Regions from separate parts of the Homo sapiens genome. Here all the other regions are linked to region 1. Evidence: promoter capture Hi-C in 16 types of primary human blood cells and fetal thymus (Javierre and others, 2016). All regions are on one chromosome and are shown on one strand. The core of a region is centred on a gene start or on the middle of the fragment in contact, and the rest is flanking DNA. Distances in the headings are between cores, read along the strand shown.

Region 1 (5,127 bases), core at 1,776-4,275:
ACTGTCAGTTGAGTGAGGCTGAGGAGATGGTGTTGTCACTGTCAGTTCTTGAGTGAGGGTGAGGAGATGCTGTTGTCACTGTCAGGTGTTGAGTGAGGGTGAGGAGATGCTGTTGTTACTGTCAGGTGTTGAGTGAGGGTGAGGAGATGGTGTCACTGTCAGTTGTTGAATGAGGGTGAGGAGATGGTGTTGTCACTGTCAGTAGCTGAGTGAGGGTCAGGAGATGGTGTTGTCACTGTCAGTAGTTGAGTGAGGCTGAGGAGATGGTGATGTCACTGTCAGTTCTTGAGTGAGGGTGAGGAGATGGTGGTGTCACTGTCAGGTGTTGAGTGAGGGTGAGGAGATGGTGTTGTCACTGTCAGTAGTTGAGTGAGGGTGAGGAGATGGTGTTGCCACTGTCAGTTCTTGAGAGAGGGTGAGGAGATATTGTTGTCACTGTCAGGTGTTGAGTGAGGGTATAGATGATGTTGTCACTGTCAGCTGTTGAGTGAGGCTGAGGAGATGGTGTTGTCACTGTCAGTTCTTGAATGAGGCTGAGGAGATGCTGTTGTCACTGTCAGGTGTTGAGTGAGGGTGAGGAGATGCTGTTGTCACTGTCAGGTGTTGAGTGAGGGTGAGGAGATGTTGTCACTGTCAGTTCTTGAATGAGGCTGAGATGCTGTTGTCACTTTCAGGTGTTGAGTGAGGGTAAGGAGATGCTGTTGTCACTGTCAGGTGTTGAGTGAGGGTGAGGAGATGGTGTCACTGTCAGTTGTTGAGTGAGGGTAAGGAGACAGGAGACGGTGTTGTCACTGTCAGTAGTTGAGTGAGGGTCAGGAGATGGTGTTGTCACTGTCAGTTGTTGAGTGAGGGTACACTGTCAGTTGTTGACTGAGGCTGAGGAGATGCTGTTGTCACTCTCAGGTGTTGAGTGAGGGTGAGGAGATGGTGTTGTCACTATCAGTAGTTGACTGACAGTGAGGAGATGCTGTTGTCACTGTTGGAAGTTGAGTGAGGGTGAGGAGAAGGTGTTATCACTGTCAGGTGTTGAGTGAGAGAGAGGAGATGGTCTGTCACTGTCAGATGTTGAGTGAGGGTCAGGAGATGATGGTGTTACTGTCAGTAGTTGAGTGAGGGTCAGGAGATGGTGTTGTTGCTGTCAGTTATTGAGTGAGGGTGAGAAGACGGTGTTGTCCCTGTCAGTAGTTGAGGGTCAGGAGAAGGTGTTGTCATTGTCAGTTGTTGAGTGAGGGTGAAGAAATGTTGTTGTCACTTTCAGTTGCTGAGTGAGGGTCAGAAGATGTTGTCACTGTCAGGTGTTGACTGAGGGTCAGATGGTGTTGTCACTGTCAGTAGTTGAGTGAGGGTGAGAAGATGCTGTTGTCACTGTCAGTAGTTGAGTGAGGGTGAGGAGACGGCGTTATCACTGTCAGGTACTGAGTGAGGGTGAGGAGATGGTGTTACAGTGCCAGTGCTGTGAGAATGAGATGGTGTTATCAATATCAGTTGTTGAATGTGGGTGAGAGATGGTGTGAACAGTGTCAGCGGCTGAGAGTGAGGTAGAGAAATAATGGGTGAGGCCATTGTCAATTAGGAGGCCATTGGCGTCTTTTGAAAGTAGTTAGTGTCTGTGGAGTGGCATGTATTCAGGTTACATGAAAAGCAGCTGAGAAGCAAACTGGCAATCAGAGTGGCAGCAACAAATTAAGAATATTCATATTCATAAAGACCATTTTTTATAATGAAAAAGTAATACATGCAGATGGGGGAAGATCACCTGAACCTTGAGAGGTGGAAGATGTAGTGAGCCGTGATCAAAACATTACACTCCAGCCTGGGTAACAGAGACCCCATCTCCAAAAAACAGAAAAGAAAAGCATTTATAAGTTCATGTTGAACAGTGTTTCAAACACATAGACAAAATTTATATGTCATGAAAATGGAATATCAGAAAAACATTGTTTAAAAAAACACAAAGTGAGTAAACCATTAATACGTGAGGTGAGCGGTGCATCAGCTTGCCGGCTTCCAGCTGCAGCGGGTGATGGAGGTGGAAGGGAGCTGTCCTCGGGACAGGAAATGAAACAAACCCAACCAAAGCCGTGTATTCGTTTATTCAATATCGTTTTGCTTTCTTGTGTAGACTGAGGGTGTAAACCTCGTTTCTGACAGTCGCCTATAGGACTTTTCAGCAGGCTGTGGGCCTAGAGGTGGGGGATGTGGAATCAAGCTAAAGACCCAGAACCAGAGAAAGAAGGAAGCAGCAGTGAGGAAGCAGGACAAGAACATCTCGGAAATTCAGCCCGGCGCGGTGGGCGCGCCTGCAGTCGCGGCGCTTTGGGGGCCCGGGCCACGTAGCACGACCCTGCCTGTGAACGCACAGACACCAGCGGTTCCAAGGGCGCGGGCAGGAAGCGGGCACCGAAGGCAGGCTGGAGAAGCGCGGGGCGGAAGCAAGAAGCCGCGCGGCGAGGAGGGCGCGTGGGGCCCCACACAGCCATGGGGCGCGCGTACTACTGGCAGCGCAGGCTCTGGACCGCTAAGGAGGCCGCGCGCGCCCACGCGTGTCCCCGGCAGAGCTTCCAGGAGACGGCTGCGAGGCCCTTCCACCCGCGGACCAGAGCGCGCCGGGTCGAACCACGACCCACGTGCAGGCCCTCGCGCGCTACCGGAAGGCCAGCCTGTGGCGCACGCGCGCCCCGCCCCGCCGATCGGTGACGTCATCGGGCCCGTCACGAGGCGGGGGCGGGGCCTCGGAACGCGACGCCCCCCGTCCCAGCTTTAGCCACTCGTGACGTCATTGCCCGGACTCCACTGCCTCCTGCGCCGCGCTTTTGCCACCCTGGGCACGTCATCGTGCGCCGACGCCAAACGAGGGCGGGGCCTAGGGACGCCACACCTTCCGCGCCGCCGCTCGTTACGTCATCGGACCTCGCCGCTTGGCGGAGGCGGGGAAGGCCCGCAGGCGGCGCCTCAGCCGGGGTTGGCGCTGAGGGGAGAGGGCGGGGAAAAGGTGGCGAATTGAGGGGAAAGTGGGAGGGGCGGGAAAGGGGCGGTCGGAACATGGCGGACCAGATCCCGCTTTACCCGGTGCGTAGCGCAGCGGCGGCCGCAGCCAACCGCAAACGCGCGGCCTACTACAGCGCCGCGGGGCCCAGGCCGGGAGCCGACCGGCACAGCAGGTAACCGAGGCGGCACTGGCCCCGTTCCCCGCCGACGCTCCCCGGGGCCCCCAGCCCACCGCAGGAACCCGGAGCCGGGCGGGTCTGGGGTCGCTACCGGCGCGCCCCATCTGTTCGCTGGGAGCCGGGAGTCCTTGGCGTTCTGAGCGCGCCGCAGCTGTGGCGTCCGCCGGTGGTGAGGGCCGCGGGCAGCTGCCGGGGCGAGCGGCTGCATCCCCGGGACGCCTGGGCCGAGCGTAGGAGCCAGAACGGGAGCAGAGAACCGCGGTCCAGTGTTGAGGGGTGGCTGCTCTCCTAAAGTAAACGGGGATCAAAAGTGCTAACTTCTCGGATACTTCAGAGTCTCCGAAACTTGTTCTTGTAGCCCTGTGAATTGTGAAGGTGACGGATGTAACTTTTAATTGCTTTGTTAAAAACACACTTCTTATTGAAATGACTTCTCTTCGACATTTCGATATCTTTGCTAGGCACACTTTTTGTTTAAACATATATATACAAAGTGCTTTTTGTCGACAAGTAATTTTGCTTTTACGAAAGGGAAATGGGGTATTGAGAACGGTTAACTTGTTTAGTGGGGTCACAGGTTAGCAGTAGAATTAGTGTACAGACCTTTCATACTCGAGATTGCATTTAGCTCATATTTAACATTTCTCATTCAAAGAAAAGAAAATTTTAAAAAGTGTTGCTTCTTATAGTTTTTGAAGTTTTATTCCAGAGGAATTGTCGAAAACATAATTTCACTCAATATGTAGTTGCTTCAGAATTTGAGTTTTTGAATAATTTTTGTTTTCGGCCATTTGAGAGACTAACATATAGCTCAAAGTACATACTGGAATGTTATAACGCTGATTTGAGTGTTTACCCACTAGCGATTTACTCTCGGGTAACTTATTTAAACTCAAGCCATGGTTTCCTCATCTGTAAAATGCTGGATAATATTTTTTCTTACGGGATTATTGGAGATTACAGTAGAACATGTGTAAGGTGCCCTTTTTTCAGTGCTTGGTTGGAAGTGGGTTCTGGTGTTACCTATAACAGTAATTGTGTTAGTAAATCTGTTTAATTTTAGGAGTTCTTTAGTTGGAAATGTGCCACCTGTTTCAAAATAGGTTTCCATCACAGATTGAATCCATTTTTGCCTCATGTACTTTGAAGCACTGTCATGTGGTGCACGCACATTCAAGATTTTTTGTCATCTCGGTGGATTGTTCCTTTCATTGTTAATGTTCCTCTGTCTCTGGTAATTTTCTTTGCTCTAAAATCTTTATTAGATATTGATGTCGCCATTTATGCTTTTTTTTGGATTAATGTTTGCATGGTATTAGCTTTCAACTTACCTATGTTGAATTTGAAGTGAGTTTCTTGTTGGATCTTATATTTTTTATCAACTATGCCATTCTCTTTTGATTGGCATATTTACACCATTTACATTTACGATAATTACTGATATGTTAGAATATAAGTGTGCCATTTATTATCTGTGTTCTGTTTCTTCTGATTCTCATTCTGATTCCTGTTTCTTTTTTTTTTTTTTTTTGCCACTTTTTGGGTTACTTGGACACTTTTTTGGTATCCCTATAGTGTGTTTGAGATTAGGTGTTGGTATAGTTTTTACAGTGCTTGCTCTGGGTATTACAATATACAAATGTGACTTATCACCATGGTGTATTGCTGTATTTCACCACTTCCAGTCAAGTGTGGAAACCCTTCTTTCACTTAGGTCCTCACTTTAAGTATCATGTCCTGGGTATCAGATGGTGTTACAGTTTTTGTGTCAGTCATCAAATATGGTTTATAAAACTCATGATGATAAAGATAGTGTATTGCATATACCACATACGCATATTTCCCCTTTTTCTATTGTTCTTCCTTTTTTTTTTTTTTGAGACAGGGTCTCACTCTGTTCTCCTGGCTGGAGTTAGTGATGCGATCGTAGCTCATTACAGCTTTGATCTGTTGGGCCCAG
Region 2 (4,183 bases), core at 1,684-4,183, 980 kb after region 1:
GGTGCCTGCCATAACTCCTGCAGTGAGGAGAGGGCCTCTTGTCCTCTTCGTTCATTCAACACATTGTTTATTGAGTGCCCACTGTGTGCCAAGCCCTGGTCAAGCACTTAGGATGCAGCTGTCTTTGGAACCTGCGTTTCATTAGGGGAGGCCGACAGGAAGCAGTAAACATCACAGATGGGTGTTAGGAGGGGAGTAGAGGGAGGTGGGGCTTGGGAGAGCAGGTCGGGGGCGTGGAAGTTTGGCCTGTGCATGTACACACACATACACATCTTTTCCAAACATGTAGTGCCTGACAGAGCCTGCAGGTCTTGGGGTGTTTGTGGGGGGCCCCATTCCAAGCCCACAGCTGCTAGAGCAGGCCTTGCCTGGGGGCCTTAGACAGCAGCGTCAACATCGCCTGGCACCTGCCAGAGTCGGGTTTAACCAGCCTGCCAGGTGCATCCCTGAGCTGGAAGCAAAGCTCCACGCTGTAGCAGGCCTGGCCTGACCGTGTCAGCAAGGGGCAGTGTGGGGGCGGCAGGGCAGGGAGCTGAGCCCAGGGTGTGGAAACTTTCCAAAGTGGAGCCTTGGAGGATACAGGGGCTGTGACGTGGCCTTGACTAGGTGCTGTTCACCAAGAATAGACTCTTCATGAAGGCGAATGAGTGGCAGGTCTGATAGGCCTCACCTGCGATTCTGCCAGTTGAACTGGCCCGAGGCACTGGCCATGCTTAGAGAAAAAAGTTGCAAACGCTTTTTTTTTTTTTTTTGAGGCAGAGTCTCACTCTGTCGCCCAGGTTAGAGTGCAGCGGCGTGATCTTGGCTCACTGCAATGTCTGCCTCTTGGGTTCAGGCGATCCTCCTGCCTCAGCCTCCTGCGTAGCTGGGATTACAGGCGAGCGCCACCACGCCCAGCTAATTTTTGTATTTTTAGTAGAGACAGGGTTTCACCATGTTGGCCAGGCTGGTCTTGCACTCCTGACCTCGTGATCCGCCCGCCTCAGCCTCGCACAGTGCTGGGATTACAGATGTGAGCCACCGTGCCCGGCGCAAATGCATTTATTGCATACAGGACGGTGCACCTGGACTGTGCTGGCCGAATGCTTCTGACACTGGAGAAGGCGGAAACCAAAGCCCACCTTCCTTCACTCCTGTCTCCAGTTACCCTCAGATAGACGTTTGGGAGGGTTCTCAGGCGAGTAGATGTAGGAAGTGTGATGTGCTGTTGTGTTGTGGCGACGACACTGTGGACTAGGGGCATGGTTTGTGCTTGGTGTGAAGCCTCTTCTTCCTTCCCAGGGACCCTGATGCCCCACAACCCTGCGGCACCACAGAGCCGACCACAAGCTCCAGTCTGTGTGGGATCGATCATGAGGCGCTCAACAAGCAGATTATGGAGTACAAAAGGAGGAAAGATAAAGGGCTCGGGGGCCTGGTGTGGCAGGGGCAGGTGGCTGAGCTGACAACGCAGATGAAAAAGGGAAGGAAGAGGGCCAAGCCCCGCCTGGAGCAGGACAGCTCCCTCAAGAGTTACCTGTCAGGCGAGGAGGTTGAAGATGACCTGGACCTGGTTGGTGCCCCGGAGTACGAATGCTATGCCCCGGACACAGAGGAGTTGGAGGCAGAGAGAGGAGGTGGCAGAACAGAGGATGGCCACAGCTGCGGAGCAAGCAGGGAGTAGATGGAGAGGCTCTGCCCATCCCACATTTGCAGGGAAAAGCATTGGCACGCAACGCAGCATGTGGCTTCATTGAGGCAGTTGATGGAGTTAAACCATCTGCTCTTCTGCTACTTCAACATTTTCTAGCTTTTCCGTGTATCTAAACACAATTTGCTACACAAGTCACTGTTTTTTTTTCCATGCACTGTGTGTAATTTAAAAATTAAATGGCCATCTTATCACAGATTCTCACAAAAAGAAAATGGTAAAATAGTGTCTCTGAGATGCTGGCATGGCCACCTCCACCTGCAGAGCCCTGCCAGGTGCCAGTGAGTGCTTGGCCCGAGGGGTCAGGCCACAGCAGTGGCCGGGGTAAGAACTGAACCTGCAAACCTGGGGAGAACAGAGGGTCCCCAGAGCCTCCCAACCCCCTGGAGCTGGGCTCCGTCCCTGGGGCTGCTGGGCTGGCACGTGGCGCCGGGGGCTCCATCCCTGGGGCTGCTGGGTCGGCACGTGGCGCCGGGGGCTCCGTCCCTGACTGGCCTCTTCACAGCTTTGTGCAGCAGGCTCCACCTTCTGGTTCAGGCCAAGGTTGGGCAGAAAGTGAGTTGGGTTTGCTGGGGCTTCCTGGGCGACCCCGGCTCTGACCGTGGTTCCATCACGCCTGAAGTAGTAACACTTTTCCCTTGGTGCCCGTGGCCAGCTAGTGTATTTTCTAATCCATCCAAAGGTGAAACAGACTTGGTCTTTGCCTTCTGAAGAGTGTGCGACTCTGAGTCATACTGAATTCTTTGTGTCACCTCCGACGCAAAGATTCGTTTTGCTGTTTATCAGAAGAGAAAACACAGATTCCATACCTTGTCAGCTCCTATTTAGTTCGGCTTCCCTCTTAATGTCCCAGCCCCTGTGAGCTGTCAGGTTCTAAATTCAGAATTCTCTCAATTCTGTCAGGTTCTGCACTACGAGTCAGTGTCATCCCTCCAAGCCCTGGCTCTCTGCCAGTGCAGCAGGGCTGTGAGAATCAAGACGGCACAGGGAAGGCATCTGTCCCAGCATTTGCACATGACAGGTGCCCACGGTGCAGGAGTAGAATCTGTGGAAGCAGCAGTGGCTTTAGTTGCTGTGCCCTGCCACCTCCTCCCCAAAAAGGAGAAGTGTCCAAGGGATAGCAGACCCGTAGCACTGAGCGGCCTGCCGTGCTGACCACTGGATCCAGGCCACGTGCTGCAGACAGCGGCTGTGGGCGAGTGATGAGGCCACTACCCAGAAAGCTGCATGTGCACTGTGTGGGGTAAGGACAGTAGGAGATGCTGCTGCAAGATGCTGACTCCCTTGTTTTTCTTTTCATTTGTGCTCTGGGACTAAGCTGTGTATAAGTCATCAAATGGCAGAAGCAAGATTTTTCTTTTGAGATCTAGGAAATTATTTGTTTATACTCTACACTCTTATTTCCTATATCAGGATGGGGAGGCCACTACCTCAGGCCAGTTAAACTAAGAAGAAAGAATTTAAGGCAATTTGTAAGGATAGACAAAACCCCACATGATGGTATGAGTAGGAGAGAGAAAAAAAAAAGGGAGCCAGAAATTAGGTTACAAAGTGTACACCACACATAAAGGCTGATGCCTCTGTTACACCGTGAGCCAAATGTTTATCTCTAGGGTTTCTGGTAGCCAGTTGCGGGGTGTCCAGTGAAGGGGTGTACATGTCTGTGGTTAATCATATAGGTCAGGATAATGAGGTGATACTGCAGTGACAAATGGCAAATCTCCCTGGCTTACAACAACCAGTTTGCCTCTTATTCTTCTAGGGGACCATCATGGGCTGAGGTCAGGCCAAGGCCTTTTGTATCTGGTGTTACTGGAACATGGCTATGTGAATTCATTTATGTACAAGAGACCTCCCCATCCTGATGTAGGAAATGAATGGTGATGATTTACGAGCGCAACATCCTAAAAAACGTTTTTGTATTTCCCTAGCAAGATAACTTCAGGTTACAAGGCTCTGGTACTTGACCATGATGACTCCATGAGAAAACAGCAGAACGCCAGCTTTGCAGGTACCTCCACAGCACTGCCGGGCTGGGAACAGGGCCAGTGCTTGCACCAGCGCTGGAGGGGGCCACAGCAGAGTAAAGACAGAGTCTGCCATGCAGGAGTGCTTCGCAGGTCAGGCACTGCTCTGAGTGCTTTGTGTTAACCTGCCCCCCGCCCCCTAACTTGGGAAAGGTGTTAAAGAAGGAGAGAACGCCCTCAATGGTGTGTCCTTTGCATACACACCTTTGCATGCATCTGATGTGCCCAGGCTGTGTTTTATTGTTCTAGCAATTTATTGTTACAAAACAGATTGCTGCCATCAATTTGTCTCAGGTCCTTCTAGCACATCTGACAGGGACTAGTGTCTAGAGCCATGAGGACAGAGACCAGAAGGGACAAGAAGGAGTGGGCAGAGGGAATGGAAGGTAGAGTTAGGCCCAGAGAGCCCCAGGCTGCTGCCCAGACCTCCACGCCTGTGCCGGATGTGGTGTTGGCATCCATAGCA
Region 3 (5,127 bases), core at 1,480-3,979, 950 kb after region 1:
TGCATCCCAGGGATGAAGCCCACTTGATCATGGTGGATAAGCTTTTTGATGTGCTGCTGGATTCGGTTTGCCAGTATTTTATTGAGGATTTTTACATCAATGTTCATCACGGATATTGGTCTAAAATTCTCTTTTTTGGTTGTGTCTCTGCCCAGCTTTGGTATCAGGATGATGCTGGCCTCATAAAATGAGTTAGGGAGGATTCCCTCTTTTTCTATTGATTGGAATAGTTTCAGAAGGAATGGTACCAGTTCCTCCTTGTACCTCTGGTAGAATTCGGCTGTGAATCCATCTGGTCCTGGACTCTTTTTGGTTGGTAAGCTATTGATTATTGCCACAATTTCAGATCCTGTTATTGGTCTATTCAGAGATTCAACTTCTTCCTGGTTTAGTCTTGGGAGAGTGTATGTGTCAAGGAATTTATCCATTATAACAAACTGTCTCTCAGACCACAGTGCAATCAAACTAGAACTCAGGATTAAGAAACTCACTCAAAACTGCTCAACTATGTGGAAACTGAACAGCCTGCTCCTGAATGACTACTGGGTACATAACGAAATGAAGGCAGAAATACACATGTTCTTTGAAACCAACGAGAACAAAGACACAACATACCAGAATCTCTGGGACACATTCAAAGCAGTGTGTAGAGGGAAATTTATAGCACTAAATGCCCACAAGAGAAAGCACGAAAGATCCAAAATTGACACGCTAACATCGCAATTAAAAGAACTAGAAAAGCAAGAGCAAACACATTCAAAAGCTAGCAGAAGGCAAGAAATAACTAAAATCAGAGCAGAACTGAAGGAAATAGAGACCAAAAAAACCCTTCAAAAAATTAATGAATCCAGGAGCTGGTTTTTTGAAAGGATCAACAAAATTGATAGACTGCTAGCAAGACTAATAAAGAAAAAAAGAGAGAAGAATCAAAAAGACGCAATAAAAATGATAAAGGGGATATCATCACCGATCCCACAGAAATACAAACTACCATCAGAGAATACTACAAACACCTCTACGCAAATAAACTAGAAAATCTAGAAGAAATGGATAAATTCCTTGAAACAAAATGCTTTTAACAGCACCCGTCACTTTTTGAATGCTTTGCTTAGAAATTTCTTCTGCCAGATACCCTAAATCATCTCTCTCGAGTTAAAAGTTCCACAGTTCTCTAGGGCAGGGGCAAAATGCCACCAGTATCTTTGCTAAAACAAAACAAGAGTCACCTTTGCTCCAGTTCCCAACAAATTCCTCATCTTCATCTGAAATTACCTCAGCTAGAATTTTATTGTCCATATCGCTATCAAAATGTTGGACAAAGCCATTCAACAAGCCTCTAGGAAGTTCCAAACTTTCCTACACTTTCCTGTCTTCTCTTGAGCCCTTCAAACTTTTCCAATCTCTGCCTGTTACCTAGTTCCAAAGTCACTTCTGCATTTTCGGATATCTTCTCAGCAACACCCGACTCTACTGGTACCAATGTACTGCATTAGTTTGTTTTCATGCTGCTGATAAAGACATACCTGAAACTAGGAACAAGAAAAGGTTTAATTGGACTTATTTCCAAATGGCTGGGGAGGTCTCAAAATCATGGTGGGAGGTGAAAGGCACTTCTTACATGGTGGCAGCAAGAGAAAATGAGGAAGAAGCAAAAGCAAAAACCCCTGATAAACCCATCAGGTCTCAAGAGAATTTATCATGAGAACAGCACAGGAAAGACTGGTTCCCATGATTCAAGTACCTCCCCCTGGGTCCCTCCCACAACACATGGGAATTCTGGGAGATAAAATTCAAGTTGAGATTTTGGTGGGGACACAGCCAAACCATATCAAGGACCATGTGTTATTTATTACCTGATAATAAGGTTGGCAAGGGGTGGCATTTCTGCCCAGGGATAGCTATTCCCATTGGGAATTCCACCTAGGAGGTCTGGCTAGATTAAAATTTTTCTATAGTCTCTCCCAGTTTGGTGTCACCCTTGTTCCTTCTTAGTCTCCAGATCTCTGTACTCTTAGCAATTATGAGCATACTTTTGGAATATTTAAAGGTTTCCCAAGTATGGTTCTTTTCCTCTGCTTTTAAAGCAGAAGAAGGCATTTGCTATCTTATTAACTTTACCTAGTCTAAAGGAGTAAGTCTTACCCTCAGGGTGTGTGTTTTTTTGCGTAGCGTTAAAAATGCTCCCATACCATGCTTTATTTATATCCATTTTTAATGGTTAAAGGTAAAGCCAGCAGAGGGAACCCCAAGATAGTGATATGGTTTGGCTGTGTCCCCACCCAAATCTCATCTTGAATTGTAACTCCCACAATTCCCTTGTGTTGTGGGAGGAACCCGGTGAAAGGTGATTGAATTGTGGGGGCGGGTCTTTCCTGCACTGTTCTCATGATAGTGAATGAGTCTCAGGAAATCTGATGGCTTTAAAAACGGGAGTTTGCCAGCACAGGCTCTCTCTTTGCCCACCACCATCCACGTAAGATGTGACTTCCTCCTCCTATTTCCTTGAGGTTTTTTTGGCTGCATAGATTTGCACCACCATTTGTTTACACTCCTGTTCAGGTTCTCCAGTTTCCTCTGGGAGGAAAGTGGCTGGGTTCAGGCCAGGACAGGTCTTTAACTGAACTGCAGGTTTTTCCAGCAGCAAAGCTTGATATTTGAGGAGGTGATTACCTGTTAGCCACAGACTTCCTTTAGAGGATAGCAGTGCTGCTACATTATGGGGTGTGTAAACAGTTAACTTATTCCTCATGGCTAACTCAACCATGCAACTGCAACTGCTCAGAGGCAAGCTGGCCATTTTTTAGCCACCAAGTTAAGCTTTTTGCTTAGGTAACCAAATGGCTGCTGGGGTGGACCTTGAGCCTAAGTTAAAACTCCCAAGGCTATTCCCTTTCTTTTTGAGACATAAAGATTAAACGCCTTCCCTATGGGAAGACTGAGCGTAGGTGCTTTAAGTCAGGCTTTAGCTGATTAAAGGCCTTCTGAGCCTCAGGTTTTTAAGTTAGGGAGTGAGTTTATAGCTGATTGAGTTTATTTTATAAGGCAGTATAAAGGGCAAGCCATTTTACTGTACCCAGGTATTTACAATTTACAAAAACCTGTAATGCCCAAAAATCCTCTTAGCTGTTTGAGTGTTCCAGGGAGGAGAAATGGGGAAATAGTCTTAATTATCTTCTCACCTAATGTTTTGGTTCTTTCTGACAAGACTAGACCAAGGTACCTCACTGAAGTTTGACAGAGCTGAGCATTAGATTTGGAAACTTTATATCCTCTACCTGCTAGAAAATAAAGAGCGTTAGTGCCTTCTTGAGAAACCCCCTCAGTTGGGGCACAGAGGATAATATTATATACATATTGTAAAACTTTAACCTGAGGATGAGAAAACTCAGAGAGATTTTTTGATAATGCTTGCCCAAACAGGTGGGCACTGTTTTGGACTCCCTGAGGCAGCACTGTACAGGTTAACTAGTTAGCCTGGTTGGAGGGATCTTTTTTTTTTTTGAGATGGAGTCTTGCTCTGTTGCCCAGGCTGGACTACAGTGCCATGATCTCAGCTCACTGCAAGCTCCACCTCCCAGGTTCATGCCATTCTCCTGCCTCAGCCTCCCGAGTAGCTGGGACTATGGGCACCCGCCACCATGCCTGGCTAATTTTTTGTATTTTTTAGTGGAGACGGGGTTTCACTGTGTTAGCCAGGATGGTCTTGATCTCCTGACCTCGTGATCTGCCCCCCTCGGCCTCCCAAAGTGCTGGGATTACAGGCATGAGCCACTGCCCCTGGCTGGTTGGAGGGACTTTCTTAAAGCAAACAAGTATTGGGAGTTAGGGTGCAATGGTATGCAGAAAAAGGCACTTGTTAGGTTTAAAACTGAATCATTTAGTTCCCTCAGGTATTTGAGTTAGCAAAGTATACGGATTAGGAACCACTGGATGGATTGGAACTATAGCTTTATTAACAAGATGGAGGTTCTGAACTAGCCTGCATTTCCCACTGGGTTTCTGTACCCCTAATATTGGGGTGTTGCAATGCTTGAGAAGGTTTTGTGCTTTTAATTTATTCATAATGGCTTTTAGGTTTTTGTTCTGTTTTTCAGCTTTTGGCTTTAGCGGGTACTGCTTTTGGTTACGGAAGAAGGTGGAATTTTTAAGGTGAATTTGGACCAGTATAACAGTTGTAGCCTGGCCAATTTTCCCGTGACTTGTCCACACCTCTGGGTTAACATTGGTTTTTAATAAGGGGAGGACAAAGAGTTTGTTCTGGAGCCATAAGGATGGTGGCTCCCATATGGGCTAGAATACCTTTTTTTTTTGCAATAGGGTTTGGCTTAGAAGTAGCATAGCATCTTTTAAGTTAGATTAAACACTTGGATTAAATTTTGGAAAGCCTCTATATATTTATTAGGGTTATTAGAGAACCTGCCCAGGTCCCCCTTTATTTGTTTAAGGTCCTGCAATGAGCAGGAAACTTGAGCCCTAGTAGCACCATTGGGCATTTCCTGCAGGGGCAACAGTGAAGTTGGGAATTTCTTGAGGGGCACTACCAGAGGAGCTAATGATCTGGCTATTGTGGGGCAGGTAGGACACCCGGAAGTTTTTTTCGAGGGTTCCCCAAGGGTTTTTTTCTTGACTCTGGGGAACCATCCTTTGCAGGCTTGCCTGACGTGGCTGCCAAAAGGGTGGGGTTAACTGTACAATGCTTACAAAGATTTAGGTTATCTTGCAAGGCAAAGAAAACCTGTACACTGGGAACCTTGGACTATTTGCCCTTTTGCCTACAGAAAAGTTTTAGTTGTTGAATAGTATAGAAATCAAGACTTTCCTCAGGCCAGGTTTGTTTGTTCCCAAGATGGTAATAAGGCCACGCCCTTGTGTAATAGAATATACGCCACTTTCTCTTTAGAGTCGTAGGGTTAAAGGAGTTCCAGTGATTTAGAATGCACTCAAGGGAAGTACAGAATGCAGATGGTTTGTTACCCATCTAGAGAGTGGGAGACAAGGTGTTCCTTAGTCCCCTTCCTTGCTTTGGCGTGACCAAGGGTGGAAGGAAAGAGAGAAAAGGTGTTGCCCTTTTGCCCTTCTCCTCTTTCCTTCTCTTCTCTGGGTCCTGGCAACCATTATAGGTGCCAC

Evidence for each region. Contacts are between HindIII fragments. The CHiCAGO score rates a contact against its expected background, and 5 or more counts as called.
Region 2: a fragment that was not itself captured here is called in contact with the fragment with the promoter of ATP9B in region 1 in 1 of 17 cell types (neutrophils); the score reaches 5.6 in neutrophils.
Region 3: a fragment that was not itself captured here is called in contact with the fragment with the promoter of ATP9B in region 1 in 1 of 17 cell types (total B cells); the score reaches 5.2 in total B cells.

The regions. Positions count from the first base shown.
Region 1 is chr18:79,066,369-79,071,495 of GRCh38, forward strand. It overlaps ATP9B (ATPase phospholipid transporting 9B (putative)), which reads left to right and starts at 3,026. Exons shown (of 30, transcript NM_198531.5): 1 at 3,026-3,161. The coding sequence starts at 3,043. The HindIII fragment of the contact is 22,095 bases long and covers 1-5,127 here.
Region 2 is chr18:80,044,493-80,048,675 of GRCh38, forward strand. RBFA (ribosome binding factor A) reads left to right here. Exons shown (of 7, transcript NM_024805.3): 7 at 1,282-4,183. The coding sequence ends at 1,663. Among named protein-coding and RNA genes, the nearest start is that of RBFA, 12 kb to the left of the region's middle. RefSeq lists an enhancer at 4,046-4,183. The HindIII fragment of the contact is 8,122 bases long and covers 1-4,183 here.
Region 3 is chr18:80,017,694-80,022,820 of GRCh38, forward strand. It overlaps a transcript of TXNL4A not described here. Among named protein-coding and RNA genes, the nearest start is that of RBFA, 14 kb to the right of the region's middle. The HindIII fragment of the contact is 171 bases long and covers 2,645-2,815 here.